Regions from separate parts of the Homo sapiens genome. Here all the other regions are linked to region 2. The links are contacts of gene promoters, found by promoter capture Hi-C in blood cells and fetal thymus (Javierre and others, 2016). All regions are on one chromosome and are shown on one strand. The core of a region is centred on a gene start or on the middle of the fragment in contact, and the rest is flanking DNA. Distances in the headings are between cores, read along the strand shown.

Evidence for each region. The method cuts DNA at HindIII sites, captures the fragments that hold promoters and counts their contacts. A CHiCAGO score of 5 or more calls a contact.
Region 1: a fragment that was not itself captured here is called in contact with the fragment with the promoter of PITRM1-AS1 in region 2 in 1 of 17 cell types (fetal thymus); the score reaches 6.6 in fetal thymus.
Region 3: a fragment that was not itself captured here is called in contact with the fragment with the promoter of PITRM1-AS1 in region 2 in 1 of 17 cell types (monocytes); the score reaches 5.4 in monocytes.

The regions. Positions count from the first base shown.
Region 1 is chr10:4,656,423-4,659,441 of GRCh38, forward strand. MANCR (mitotically associated long non coding RNA) reads right to left here. Exons shown (of 4, transcript NR_024475.1): 3 at 1,179-1,303. All of the region lies in intron 1 of LINC00705 (long intergenic non-protein coding RNA 705), which reads left to right. Among named protein-coding and RNA genes, the nearest start is that of LINC00705, 1.8 kb to the left of the region's middle. The HindIII fragment of the contact is 1,745 bases long and covers 428-2,172 here.
Region 2 is chr10:3,140,114-3,143,071 of GRCh38, forward strand. PITRM1-AS1 (PITRM1 antisense RNA 1) reads left to right here and starts at 1,488. Exons shown (of 4, transcript NR_038284.1): 1 at 1,488-1,656; 2 at 2,859-2,958. PITRM1 (pitrilysin metallopeptidase 1) reads right to left here. Exons shown (of 27, transcript NM_014889.4): 24 at 574-699. RefSeq lists enhancers at 1,228-1,729, 1,730-2,229. The HindIII fragment of the contact is 14,067 bases long and covers 1-2,958 here.
Region 3 is chr10:4,673,275-4,676,302 of GRCh38, forward strand. The region is part of intron 1 of MANCR (mitotically associated long non coding RNA); the gene reads right to left. The region is part of intron 1 of LOC105376373 (a long non-coding RNA gene); the gene reads left to right. Among named protein-coding and RNA genes, the nearest start is that of MANCR, 3.3 kb to the right of the region's middle. The HindIII fragment of the contact is 1,609 bases long and covers 890-2,498 here.

The DNA of each region.
Region 1 (3,019 bases), core at 50-2,549, 1.5 Mb after region 2:
CATTTTGAATATATGTATATATATACACATACATATATACACACACACAATATATATAGGAAAATAAAATTAAATATTATCAGAATGTTTATTTCTTGATGATGGGAATTTGAGTGGTTCTTTTTTTACTTTATTTCTATTGTTATTCATTTGGTATTTTCCAAATTTTGTTCAGTGATTTTTTATTACTTTTACAATGATAGACATTATGTTTGGAGGCAGAAAAAAGAAGGGAACAGACAAGAAACGTTCATTTGAAAATTCTAAATGCAGAACATACCTGAAGTCAAAGTGTCCCCCGTCACTGAAAAACCAAAGCCACCAATATCAAAGAAGCGTGGGCCCTTCCGCCCCCTACTGTCTATCTTCAGTAACTGTCCAGTGAGTCTCCGCCTTTTGTTAGCAGGAATCTAAGAATCTCCTGGGAAGCTTGCTGTTTGCAAAATTAGGAAATCTTGAGCTACATCCTCAGATAATCTGAGGCTGGATACCCTCAAACTATACTGTGAGAAACATCATCAAAATTAAGTTACATGACGTGATCACAGCTATAGTAATAAAATCAGAAAAAATATGGACATCATATTTAGAAACACAAATTGGCAACGAGATTTCTTTCAGTTTTAAAAAAGTGTATTAGTATATAACATAATATAGTATGTATTAAAATAATATACATTTAAGGGTATATAAATATATGCTTAGTACACATTGTCAGTATTAATATCAATACATTACCTTTTATACATATGTATGTGTGTTTGTTTGTGTATTTATGCACATGCAGCTTTATATTTGCCTATGTAGTTGTATATATGTAGAGTGCATAGTATAGTGTGGATGTGTGCGTATGTGGTATGCATATACCACACACACAGAGTCCTGCACATACACACACAGAGCCATGCATCGTTTAACAATGGGGATACATTCTGAGAAACGCATCCATAGGTGATTTTGTTGTTATGCAAACATCATAGTGTGAACTTTCACAAAACTAGACAGAAGAGCCTACTACACACCTACTGCTGCTAGGCAACAAACATGTACAGCCTGTTATTGTCCTGAATACTGTAGGCAATTGTAACACAATGGTATTTACATATCTAAACATAGAAAAGATACAGTAAAAATATGGTATAAAAGATAAAAATGATGCACCTGTGTAGGACACTCACCATGAATGCAGCTTTCAGGACTGGAAGTTGCTCTGGCTGGGTCAGTGAGCGAGTGGTGAGTGGATGTGAAAGCCTTGGACATTACTGTATGCTACTGCAGACTTTACAAGCACTGTACACTTAGACTACACAAAATGTACAAAAAAATTTCTCTCATCAATAATGAATTAACCTTAGCCCACTATAACTTTTTTTACAGTATAAACTTTTCACTTTGTTTTAACTTTCTGACTCTTGTAATTACACTCCACTGAAAACACAAATCCACTGTATAGCTGAACAAAAATATTGTCTCTTTTTATATCCGTATTCTATAAGCGCTCTTATATTGTTTAATTTTTTAATTTTTAAACTTTTTTGTTAAAAACTAAAACACAAACCACACAATAGCCTACACCTACACGGGGTCAGGATCATTATCACTGTCTTCCACCTACATTTCTTGCCCCATTGGAAGGTCTTCAGGGGCAACGTCACGCATTAAGCTGGCATCTCCTATGATGACAATGCCTTTTTCTGGATAGCTCCTGAAGGAAGTGCCTGAAGCTGTTTCACAACTGACCTTTTAATAATATATTAACATAAAGAGTACAATCTAAAATAACAATAAAAACTATAGCATATTAAACTAGTAACCTAATCATTTATTATCATTGTCAGGTATTATGTGCTATACCTTATTGTATGTGCTGTATTTTTATATGACTGGCAGTGCAGTAAGTCTGTGTACACAAGCATCACCACGAACACAGGACTAATGCATTTTGCTACAGTCTTACAGTGGCGACTGCCTGATGAGTTGGCAGGAGTTTGCCAGCTCCATTATAATCTTGAGGGATCACCATGGTATATGTGGTCCTTCGTTGAACAAAACGTTGTTATGCTGTACACGACTGTATGTACTTTTACAAATAATGCTGCATTTGTCTTTTTAGAAATTATCAAGATCCTAACCTGCGATTAACATCTGCATTTTAACTCTAAAGCTGATAAAAGCTTTTCCTCACTTTGAAGTTATTTGAAGTAGCAGGTTTTTTAAAAGATGACATATATAAGTTCTTAAAAATCATTATTTACTAATTTCAGCATTTCTTCTGAGCTAAGTTTAATATTGTAAAATCTCACAAGCAATTTATTTAAGGTCAGTTAATGACATTGAAGCCAAATTCCTTTTTAAAATACGCTCTCAGTTGCAATTGAACACAGTTACACGTGCCTCTTTGAAGGAAAACGTAGGCACAGTGATAAATGCAGCGTTTCCTTACCCATAACCAAATAGAAATAGCTGCATCAACATTCCGAGCCCAGGACAAATAGGGCTGAAAAGAAAACAAGAAAAAATCATCAGTTTGGCAGCAAATCCACTGTCACTATACTCCCTGGCACTTGCCTTTGGCCTGGAAAGCACTTGTCAATAACGGCTTCTTTGTTTTCTGAGACGTCATCTGTAAATACTGAAATATTGAAACCTAGTCCAGGCTTTGATACCGCATTCTTAAACCTGTTTTGAAAACCTGAGATAATTGCTTTAAAAATGCCTTCATCTATCTGTTATTTGATTTAGAAATACATTGGATTAGGTCTTATAAGTCAAGCAGAAACTTGTCTTTTTTTTTTTTTTTTTTTCTAGACGGAATCTCACTCTCACCAGGCTGGAGTGCAGCGAGCAATCTCGGCTCACTGCAGCCTCTGCCTCCTGGGTTCAAGCAATTCTCCTGCCTCAGCCTCCCGAGTAGCTGGGATTACAGGTGTGAGCCACCACACCCAGCTAATTTTTGTATTTTTAGTAGAGACAAGGTTTCACCATGTTGGTCAGGATTGTCTCGACCTTCTGACTTCGT
Region 2 (2,958 bases), core at 238-2,737:
CAGCAAGATATTAACAAAATACAACAATTATACTGTAATAAAAGTTACGCTGATGGGCTACTATTAAGTAAAACAAGGGTTCTGTGAACAGAAGCTCTTGGATACCCACAGCGTATCTGATACCTAGACGGCTACTGGGTGACCAACAGGCAGGTACCGTAGACAGCGTCAGCTTTCATCCCACTGCTTAGAAGAATGGTGTACAATTTAAAACTTAGGAAGTGTTTATGTCTGGAATTTTCCATTTAATATTTTCAGACCGAGGGGGACTGTGGGTAATAAACCATGGAAGGCAAACCCACGGATGGAGGCACTACCGTGTTCTGCCAAAATATGCTGGCTGAAGCCAGGGTTTACTGAAGGCAGAATGCTTCCTGTTTCGGCTGCTGGCCCTAATCCTCGCGCCAGAAAGGACATTGCTGGGTGTGGCTAAGTGCCCAAGGAGTGAAAAGAAGCACACAGAACAACTTTTGTCTAAAATTCACTGCAGTAGAAGAAAATGACACTGATAATCATGAGTAGAAGACTAAAACGACGTGTGCATCCCAATGTGTGAACTAGAGCAAAACTCACCTGTAAGAGTAAAGGGTGAAAATCCCATTGTGGCTGAGTTTTGCGCCTCCACCATAAGCACCGCCTTTTTCTCGAATTTCTGTATGCAAGAATTTGGCAGTCATCAAACGTGCAAGGATTTTAAGACTGAAATGATTAAAAAATGCAAGTTAATACCGTGGCTGATAAAAAAGCATAGACAATGAAGTAATTGTTGGATTAAGTGAAAATGAAAATCGAGTTGTAAAATAATGCTGCATAAATTATGGTCCCATATTTTGGTCTTGTTTTTTAAGAGATGGGGTCTCGCTCTGTCGCCAGGCTGGAGTGCATTAGTGCAATCACAGCTCACTGCAGCTTTGAACTCCTGGGCTCAAGGGATCCTCCCACAACAGCCTCCTGAGTAGCTGGGCCTACAGGTGTGTGCCACCACGCCTGACTATTTTTACAGTTTTTGTAGAGGCAGGGTCTAGCTTTGTTGCCCAGGCTGGTCTCAAACACCTGGCTTCAAGTGATCCTCCTGCCTTCAAAGTGCTGAGCTTACAGGCATGAGATTTTCTTTTCAATTAACCAAAACTAAAAAGCACAAGGAAGCACAATTTTCAAACAGTTGGCTTAGATTACAGGGTTGAAGGGAGAGGTGGTGGGGAGGGAATCTTAACACTTCCAGCACCACACTGCTTAACTTGTTCCAATGCACATGTGGCATTTTTAAAATCTCGTGAAGTAGAAAGAGGTTATTTCTATTATAAAGGCAAATGAGCAAATGAACATTTATTTAAATGTCTCACATCAGAATATGGAAAGAAAGGAAACTGAAGTGAGTTTTATAAGAATCCCTTAAGAAAACACACACTCTCTGATAAAGCACATTTCTAGGAACAGGGCCAATTTCCTCTGCCTTCCACTGTGAACGGTAACATCACATTCAAGCTGATTCTAGAACACATCCACCTCCGACAGAAGGCGGGGCAGACAATGATGGGAGGGTCTGCAGCACAGACACAGGCTCCTTGAAGACGCCCGTGGTGAGATCAGCCCCAGGTCGCCGCTTCCACAGACAGGCCTTTTCCTAAAGTGGATGAAGGGAGTCAAATAGGCCAGGTGGGAAATCAAGGAAGGAGTGGGCGTGTTCCCAGGGGCTGTGGTGGGAGAAGTCACGACCATCTCGTGTGGGTCCTCCAGGAGAAACCCAGCGCCACTCGGGTGGCTGGGGCGCCGTCAGCCGGGACTAGCGAGGCTGGAGTCAGACCCTGGGGGACGGAGTCTCCACCAGCACCGGCAGGGATGGCGTTCCATCCGTCCACACATTATCCTTCCTGAGAAATTTCTATTACTTGTATATTAAAAACATGCTCACTTTTGAAAGATTATAAAATACAAAACACAAGGAAAAAAAGATCTGGAATCCCACTGCCCAGGGGGAACCTCCACATTTTTAGTGTTTTCTGTCTACATTTTCCTGTTGGATAGTGGAAACAGACACCACTCTTCTGCCGGCATAGCAGACAGATCTGTTCATCTTCTACAAATATGGAAATAAATGAACAAAACAGCTGACCACATACTTCTACAGCCAGCTCTTTCTGGGCCCCCACTGCAGCCCCACGTTTCTTCCCGCCTGCCTCCTACACACCTCCCCATCTGTGACCCTCTGTGACACACGTGCACCTCGGAGGCCCGGCTCCTTCTCCAATCAGGACAGGCTGCCCAGGCCTAAGCCTGCCTTCCCCCTCTCTACCAGGCTCACTCCTTGGTTTAGTCCCTCATGGGGGTAGCTGCCTGGGACAAGGACACAGGAAGTGAATTTCCGGGATATAACATGTTTGCACATATCTGTGTCATACACACCCAACTGACGGGTCCCCAAAGGTGCACGTCTGTGAGTCTGTCCTGGTCTGGCCAGTTTCCCCAGATGGGATGAACACAGCCAAGGGGCAGCCAGAGTTCGGAAGAAGGGGCTGGAGGGCCAGTCTGTAGGCTGCAAACTCCCTCGCCCCACGCCACTTTGGGAACAGGCCTGACCCTGACTCTTGGCTGTGGCTTCGGCTGCTCAACCCAGGGCCTCCTTCCCTGAGCTTCTGACTTGGTGGGGAGACAGGGGAGACAAACTCCTTAGAGGGACTGTGAGGCGGCCTCCAGCCCTGCCATCTGCAGGGCTCTGCAGGACCACCTGGTTTCTCCCCACTGCCCTGTCCCTCTGTGGCCCCAGGTCAGGCACCCCCCACCCACCCAGAGTCTGGCTCACGAGGTTCTCCTGCAGCCCCCATGGCTCTCCGGGTCACCTCCCACTCTTTCCCTTGTAGCTTCGTGTCTTGATCTGCCTTTGCTGTCATTCACGCATCTGTCCTCATGAAGGCTTAACCTACCATGTTTATCAGAAATCTCAGCCTAAATTCATTCGAT
Region 3 (3,028 bases), core at 444-2,943, 1.5 Mb after region 2:
GAAATAATAAGCTGATAGGCATTTTCATAAAAATATAGCAGGTTCATAATAAATGCCTAAAGTGCTTATTGTCTTAATGTATTCATTTTTTAGCCATTTAAATTACATTTTACAGTTCCAAAAGTGGCTAATCAAGTAATAAAGATAATGTTCAAAACTACAAAGATCTTCTTGGCGTATTCTCAGCCAAGAGAGTATTGGCATATTTTCGCAGATAGCACATAACACTTTTTCATGAGTCACTGTCTTAAAATAATTTTCTTCCTAGTGTTATAATACTTCCTTATAGGAATTTTGATTCTGCAAATAAATTTTACATCAATTGATATTTGCAACATTATTTTAATATTAAATAAAATTATATTTTAGTTTTGTTTAATAAAACAACATCAAGATTTGCAACAAGTACTATTACCACTTTCTCACAAACTAATTATAATACCTATTTGGTTGCCATGTGGTTTAGGCACTCATCTCAGAGAGTCAGTTGTGTATAGGGTAGTGATTCTGCCATGGTACCTGTCTTCATTATTTTCAGCGAGATCCGTAAACTCTTTGTGACTGAGTCTCACCTGTTGAACTAACCAGTAACTGTTGCTCTGGTCCACTGAAAAACTAAGAGTCATTTGTATCACGTTCTAATCGCCTTCATCACAAGGGCTATCTTTCCTGCTTTGAAACTTAAATGTTCATCATCAAGCAGTTTCTTGTGTGAGGTACCTACCTTGATAACTACGTTAAACATTTCCCTATTTTTTTCAGTCCTTTAAAGATTCTGCATATTTACTGGGTGTAAGATAATTTTCTCAGCATGAAAAGAAGAATGTGAAATGGTTGAGGTTTAAATACCCATAAGAGAAGAGGAGATAAGAGACTAGTTACTGTCTTAAGCTTATACTTGAATTTCAAGTAGATACTTGCAAAATCTGGGGACTATTGAAAAGCTACTATTAATAATAAGAGAAAATGCCCCCATATAGGGACAAAAATACTCCAAGTGAAGTAGCCATCTGAATGGGACTCAGTTGGGGGAGAAAATGCTTTTTACAACAAATTAAATTCTACTTCGATCTTCGCACAAATTTGTAGTCCAAATTAATATTATAAAAGAATTGTGAAAATCCCAAGTTAATACATGAAGAAGAGACATATTTTGGGAAGTTGAAATATTAGTGGCTTCAGCCAAAGACAATGCAAAAAAGCATTTTGTATGTGTTCCACTTCAGGCATGGCCAAAGATGCTCCTGCCAGGCCAATTTCCCCACAAATAACCACTCGAAACCTGGATAAATTTTTTGAATAGTAGCCTGGAGGCAGTGCAGATTGAGCAGAGGCTGAAAGATTATAGGAGGGAATCAATTTGGAAGAAAGAATGGCATGGGGTAATTTTCCTGTGTTCTCAATTATTTTAGCCTCAATGCAGATTGCAGTCAGCATTAATAAGTAAATCCTTGATAGAAAACCCATACTTTTTCTGTTCTAAAGAACTGGAGAACAGAGTTTGAAATAATCATTTCCACCAGAAAGTGAGGGAGATATTCCAGAAAGGAGATGGCCAGAGACGGGGAGCCCAGATCCCATGCACAAATTTCAGCCAATTAACTAACCAACCTTAAACCATGCATACACAAGGCAGGATCAAAGCACTTTGGAATGAATTTTGAGCTGTGTTCAAAACACAATGTTCATGAGTCTAAAATAATTGTCCGCTAAAATTTAGAAAATCAATACTCTATTAAGGATTATAACAGGATTCAGTCTCTACATCTTCAGAGTATTCAAGAAACAATACAAATCCAGTCAATAGGTGAAGAAAGAATGGATATTTCATTCATTCTCAAGAGAAAAGACAACCTATGGAAAACAATACCCAAATGAACATATGTTGAAATAAGCACATAGGATATTATTTTAACTATTTTAACTACACTCAGTAGTGTAAAAAGAAATATGCTCTTAATAATCAAAATACAAATAGTTTCATCAGCAAATAGAAACTAGGAAAAAGTCTCAAACAGAAATGCAAGAATCAGCCAGGTGCAGTGGCTCACACCTGTAATCCCATCACTTTGGGAGGCTGAGGTGGGCTAATCACCTGAGGTCAACAGTTCGAGACCAGCCTGGCCAACATTGTGAAACCCCATCTCTACAAAAAATACAAAAATAGCTGGGTGTGATGGCATGCACCTGTAATCCCAGCTACTTGGGAGGCTGAGGCAGGTAAATCGCTTGAACCTGGGAGGTGGAGGCTGCAGTGAGCCAAGATTGCACCACTGCAATCCAGTCTGGGTGACAGAGTGAGATGCTGTCTCAAACAAAAACAAACAAACAAAACAAAACAAACAAGAAATGCAAGAAGGGAAAAATACAATGTATGCAGTAAGCACACACTAATTGGGCTTCACAGAATAATAGAATTGACAAAGAAAGGGGTCAGAGAGATCAACAGAACTTTTTAAAATCTGAACAATACCAAGATTGATAAGCAAAGTGAACAAAGCTTCATGGACCTGTGAAATAATCTCTGAAGTTCCAATATCCATGTAACTGCAGTTCCACAGCAGAAGAGAAAGAAAATGGGACATACAGACACACAATTATTGAAAAAAAAAAACTGAACTTTTTCAATTAGGTAAAAGATAAATTTACAGATTATAGAAGCTCAGTAAATTCCAAGTGTGAGCAAACATCATTAAAATGAGCAAGTATGTAATAGTCAAAGTATTTAAAGCCAAAGAAAGAATGTTTTCACAAGCCAGACAAAAATGGCATATTACATACATGCAAAAAATGTTTCAAATATCTTTTTCTTGTCAGAAATTTTAGATGTGAGAAGACAGTTGAAAAATATTATAAGGTAATGCAAGGAAAGAAACTGCCAACCCACAATTCTACATCCAACAAATGTATTCTTCAGAATATGAAGGCAAAATAGAGACAACCTCATACGTTCCACCATTGTGTTTTGGAAGCAGATAATTTGTTTTCTAGTTTTACAGTTCTGTGGATGAAGGGACTTTGCCCCAGT